Regions from separate parts of the Homo sapiens genome. Here region 1 is linked to region 2. The links are contacts of gene promoters, found by promoter capture Hi-C in human tissues and cell types (Jung and others, 2019). All regions are on one chromosome and are shown on one strand. The core of a region is centred on a gene start or on the middle of the fragment in contact, and the rest is flanking DNA. Distances in the headings are between cores, read along the strand shown.

Region 1 (3,033 bases), core at 174-2,673, 79 kb before region 2:
TTTTTTCTCTTTCTCCGTCTCTCTCCCTCTCTCTCGTTCTGTCTCCCCCGCCTGTCTCCCTCCCTCCCTCTTCCACTCTCCCTGCGTCTCTCCCTGTTTCTTTCTTTCCCCTTCTTCTCCTGTCCCGTCTGTCCCCTCTGTCCCTCTCTCTGTTCTTTTTTCTGTCTCTCCCTCCCTTTCTCTGGGCCTCTCCCTCCCTCTCTGTCTTCTCTCTGTCTCCCCCTCTCCGTTTCCCTCCCTATCTCTCCCTCCCTCTCTCCCTCCGTCTCTGTCTGTGTCTCTTTCTCTCTGTCTCTCCCCACTTGTCTTTCTACCTCTCCTTCCTTCTCTCTCTGTGCCTCTTCTTCTCCCCGTCCCTCCACGTCCCCCGTGTTACCTGTGTGATTCAGCTGCAGCTCAGCTACGTCCCACTGGAAGAAAAGACCAGAAAACAGGGCACGGACGTAAGCAGAGAGGTTCTATGTGTCCCCTGTGCCAGGAGCTCTCTTTTCTCTGTCCATCCTCCTTTCCACCTCTCATCCCACGGCGCGCACTGGTGATTTTATTTCATTTTATTTTTTTTTACTCTTAAGACTTCTTAAAGAGGAAGCAGGTCTGAACCAGCGGGGAACGTGAAGTCGAGACCTTCAAAAGAACTTCTTCGTTTCCCGAATCGTTTTCCTGGATGTCACTGGGCGCGAGAGCACCGCGCGCAGCGGACTCTCTACGCTGCAAAGGCGCCCGGCGCGGTCCCCAAAGGGACCCCTCCCCCACCCGGAGCGAGTGGCTGGGGCCATCCCGTCCTAGGAGGCCCCAGGAAGCCCCCACGCCCAGCCTTGTGAAGCCCCCAGCAGCCTCTGAGTCAGCCTGCCGGGGGAACACCAGAGCCGAGTCATCTTCCATTTCCATGTGTGCCTACCTTTCCCATCCCGGGATCTCCCTGTACCTCCTGGCAGGGCTGCCTGTCTCGTAGCCCCTACACCGGGCAGCCTGGTCCCCGCCTCGCCTCCCTGTTCTGGTCTCTGTCTCTGCCCTACCAGATCTTCCTCTCTGGCCTCTTTGTACCCATCTCATTCTGTCTTTTCGGTCACGCGCCTCTCTATGTTTTCTTCCCAACTTTTCCATCTCAACTCACCCCAAGTGACTCGAGCGGCAGCTGCTGCTGAGCCTGTGCGAAGCGCTGGATGCACACCACGAGGCAGATCACCAAGCCCGCGACCAATGGGACCAAAGCAGCCCGCAGGACGCACCCATAGGGCCTGCGCCGCACCGAGCAGCCCGAACCCTCCTCCGGCATCGCCGCGGCGATCACCTCCGCTAGCGCAGGAGGGGCGATGGGGGCGCGGAGCGCTGCCGAGAAGGAAGGAAGGAAACTGCAGCCCCCTCCCGGGGCTCCTGGGCGTCTACTTGCTTCAACCTGTCAGGGGACCAGCCTGCCCCTCTCTGGGGATGTCCGGCCGGTCGAGGGGAGGGACTTGAGCAATTGGCGAGGGGAAATTCCCTCCAACCGCTGCCAGTCTGAAGATCCTAAAGTGGGTGGAGGCAGTTGCCAGGATGCAGGCAGTGGCCCCGGGTGAGCCTCAGAGTTGCCTGCCCCCAACCCCTCCCCGCCCGACCTTCAGGCAGGAGACATTCAATCTTCCTATTCCCCTCTCCACCTCATTCTTCTGGGGCCCATTCATTTATTCAACAAACCTCCACTGCACATTTATTAGGGATTAGATTGTGCTGTGCACTGGGGATACAGCAGACATCCAAGAATTGGGGGTGCTCCCCAAATATTCGTGTACCCCTCTCCTGCATTTTTTTGATTTGTTTTGTTTTTGAGACGGAGGTCTCCCTCTGTCACCCAGGCTGGAGTGCAGTGGCGCCATCTCAGCTCGCCGCAACCTCGATCTCCTGGGTTCAAGCGATTCTCCTGTCTGAGCCTCGCGAGTAGCTGGGAGTAACATGCGCGCGCCACCATGCCTGGCTAATTTTTTGTATTTTTAGTAGAGATGGGGTTTCACCATGTTGGCCAGGCTGGACTTGAACTCCTGACCTTGGGTGATCCACCCGCCTTGGCCTTCCAAAGTGCTGGGATTAAAGGCATGAGACACTGCACCCGGTCAGTTATCTCCTGCATTCTTGGAGACCACCTGCTTTTTTGTTTAAAGTTAAATTAAGTTAATATTTTTATTTTTTATTTTTATTTTATTTTATTATTTATTTTTTTTTTTTTTGAGACAGAGTCTCGCTCTGTCGCCCAGGCTGGAGTGCAGTGGCGCCATCTCGGCTCACTGCAAGCTCCGCCTCCCGGGTTCACGCCATTCTCCTGCCTCAGCCTCTCAAGTAGCTGGGACTACAGGCGCCCGCCACCACGCCCGGCTAACTTTTTGTATTTTTAGTAGAGATGGGTTTTCACCATGTTAGCGAGGATGGTCTCCATCTCCTGACCTCGTGATCTGCCCGCCTTGGCCTCCCAAAGTGCTGGGATTACAGGCGTGAGCCGCCGCGCCCGGCCTAAATTAATATTTTTAGAGACAGAGTGTTGCTCTGTTGCCCAGGCTGGATGCAGTGGCGCCACACAGCTCACAGCAGCCTCAAACTCCTGGGCTTCAGTGACCCTCCCATCTCAGCCTTTTGCATAGTTGGGTCTACCAGCACACGCTACCATGCCCGGCTAATTTTTTTTTTGGGGGGGGTAGAGGATAGGGTGTTACTATGTTACCAGGCTGGTCTCAAACATCTGGGCTCAAGCGATCCTGCTGCGTAGGTCCCCCAAAGTGCCGGGATGACAGGTGTGAGCCACCGCATCCAGCCTCCTGCTGCTGTTCTCGATGGCTGTAGTGGGTTAACGGTGTCCTCCCAGAATTCATGGCCTCCTGGAACTGCAGAATATGACCTCATTTTGAAATTACGGGGTTTTTTTTGCAGATATAATTAGGCTTAAATGAGGTCATACTGGATTAGAGTGGGCCCTCAGGTGGAGAGAAAAGAGGCTCATAGAGAAGGAGCCGTGTGAAAACAGAAACAGAAACTGAATGAGGCAGATGAAAGTCAAGAAACACCAAG
Region 2 (2,779 bases), core at 23-2,522:
AGACCCAGAGACAAAGACAGACAACGTGAATACACCGGCTGCAGCTAGGCGGGTGTGTGGACATGTGGGTACACGCACATACGTCCACATGGGTATATGGACACGAATGTGTGGCCACCGGATCCAGACCCAGGACACAAAAGGGGCCAAGCCCACAGGGGTATGGTGTTGGGCACACATAGACCCCCAGGTGAGGCACACAGACAGGCGGACACATCCACAGCCAGCTGGAAGCAGACCGAGAAATTTCCACAGATGGAAATGGTCAGAGAATTAATGACAATCGCAGTAACAGTAATAAGAGTACCAGAGAAGGCCAGGCGCAGTGGCTCACACCTGTAATCCCAGCACTTTGGGAGGCTGAGGCGGGTGGATCTCCTGAGGTCGGGAGTTTGAGACCAGCCTGACAAACATAGAGAAGCCCCATCTCTACTAAAAATACAAAATTGGCCAGGCGTGGTGGCGCATGCCTGTAATCCCAGCTACTCGGGAGGCTGAGGCAGGAGAATCACTTGAACCCGGGAGGCAGAGGTTGCGGTGAGCAGAGATCATGCCATTGCACTCCAGCCTGGGCAACGAGAGTGAAACTCCGTCTCAAAAATAAAAAAGTACAGAGAAAATGCATGCGTGTGTGCACAGGGGTGTGCATGGCAGTGTTGGGGTGTCAGTTCCGACGGGTGGAGCTGGCATCGTCTGGTACTACACATGCCATAGCATACTTCGTCCCCTATGAAGAGACTGCCCTTATTTTGTAGATGAAGACACTGAGGTTCAGAGAGGTGAATTCACTTGCCCAAGGCTGGGAGCAGCAACCAGTCAAGCCAGCTGCTCTCAGCCTGTGCCCTGTCCTACACACACACACACACACACACACACACACACACACAGACACACAGTGACCCACAATGACACAGGGGAGCCCCCCTCACCTCCACCTGCTCTCAGCCCCCCGGTCCCACTCACAGGCAGGCGGGTGACCATCTCTCCTAGACGCCAGTGCAGCTGCAGGAGGAACCAGCCTTGGACGGCCAGCCCGGCCCCCATCAGCAACAGCAAGAGACCCAGACCCACCCGGGCCACACTGCACGACTGTCTCCGGTGGCTTCGTCCCAGCCTCGTGAATGGGATGTCGGTCTGTCCATCCACCACAAACACTGAGGGCCGTACGACACTCTCCTCCATGCCCAAGGTGTCTGGAGCAGGGCTGACACGCCTGGGTCCTTCAACCTCAGAGGAAACCGAAATTGCTCAACACTCCTGGGCTGTGCACGCTGCGGACAGGCACCCGTGGGCCGCCTTTAGAGCTGGGGTTCAGCCCCACCCCTTCCCCCACTCACCCTCCTCTTCTTCCGGTACCCGCCGCCCCCGGTCTTGGCCCTGTCTCACTCTCACTCATACAGACTCTCACACTTTCCAGAGGCTTCTGAAAATGTGACTCAGGTGGCAAGTGCAGTGGGGAGCCCCCAGCTTTCCCTTCTTGGATGCTTCATTCGCTTGGGGCCACCAAATATCGACTGAGGACTTTCTGCCCATGCCAGGCTCTGCTCTCGGTGTGGGGGATGCAGCAATGAACAACAGCAAGAAGGGTCCCTGCTCCTCTTCTGGTGGAGCCAGAGAGACAAGAAACCTCGTAAACAAGAAAATAATACGTTGTGGGTTTTTTTGTTCGTTTATTTGTTTTGTTTTTGAGATGGAGTCTCGCTCTGTTGCCCAGGCTGGAGTGCAGTGGCGCGATCTCAGCTTACTACAACCTCCACCTCCTGGGTTCAAGCAATTCTCCTGCCTCAGCCTCCCAAGTAGCGGGGATTACAGGCGCGTGCCACCACGCCTGGCTGCTTTTTGTATTTTTAGTAGAGATGGGTTTTCACCATGTCGGTCAGGCTGGTCTCGAACTCCTGACCTCAAGCGATCCACCCACCTCAGCCTCCCAAAGTGCTGGGATTACAAACGTGAGCCGCACCATGCCCGGCCTTCTGTTGTGTTTTGATGTGACAAGTGCAGTGAAAAACACAAGAGTGGAATAAAGGAGTGGATGTGTGCTCTGTGTGTGTGCTTGTCTGCATGCATATATGTGTGCAGTGTGTGCATGTGAATGTGTGTATTCAGTTGTGTGCATGCAAGTGTGTATCATGTACACATGTGCAGGCGCATGCCTGTGTATCATACATGTGCTGGCATGTAAATGTGCGTGCATATGTGGGCAGGTGCATGCATATGTGTATGGTCATCTGTGTGCATGTGCATGTGGTCCATGTACATGCATGCATGTGCACGTGTGTGTATGTGTGAACATGCATCACATGTGCAAGTGGGTGTGCATATATGTGCTGTGTGCAGGTGTGTGCATGTGTGTGTGCCTGTGCATTGGTGCGTGTATGTGTGTGTGCGCACTTGCACGGGTGTGTTCATGTGTGTGGGGAGGTCCATGTATGAGTGTGCATGCATTCAAGCGTGGATTTTTTTTTTTTTCGAGACGGAGTCTCGCTCTGTCGCCCAGGCTGGAGTGCAGTGGTGCGATCTCGGCTCACTGCAAGCTCCGCCTCCCAGGTTCACGCCATTCTCCTGCCTCAGCCTCCTGAGTAGCTGGGACTACAGGCGCCCACCACCGCACCCAGCTAATTTTTTGTATTTTTAGTAGAGACGGGGTTTCACCGTGTTAGCCAGGATGGTCTCAATCTCCTGACCTCGTGATCCGCCTGCCTTGGCCTCCCAAAGTGCTGGGATTACAGGCATAAGCCACCGCACCCAGCCTTTTTCTTTCTTTTTTTTTTTGAGGCAG

Evidence for each region. Contacts are between HindIII fragments. The study calls those that stand out against the background at their distance.
Region 1: the fragment with the promoter of CD70 here is called in contact with the fragment with the promoter of TNFSF14 in region 2 in 3 of the 25 tissues and cell types used here (lymphoblastoid cells, pancreas and stomach).

Annotation. Positions count from the first base shown.
Region 1 is chr19:6,589,727-6,592,759 of GRCh38, forward strand. It overlaps CD70 (CD70 molecule), which reads right to left and starts at 1,424. Exons shown (of 3, transcript NM_001252.5): 1 at 1,115-1,424; 2 at 377-410. The coding sequence starts at 1,276. RefSeq lists enhancers at 324-693, 1,194-1,593, 2,664-3,033. The HindIII fragment of the contact is 16,779 bases long and covers 814-3,033 here.
Region 2 is chr19:6,668,888-6,671,666 of GRCh38, forward strand. TNFSF14 (TNF superfamily member 14) reads right to left here and starts at 1,273. Exons shown (of 4, transcript NM_001376887.1): 1 at 964-1,273. The coding sequence starts at 1,182. RefSeq lists enhancers at 1-132, 1,033-1,122, 1,503-1,732 and a silencer at 2,303-2,402. The HindIII fragment of the contact is 26,746 bases long and covers 1-2,779 here.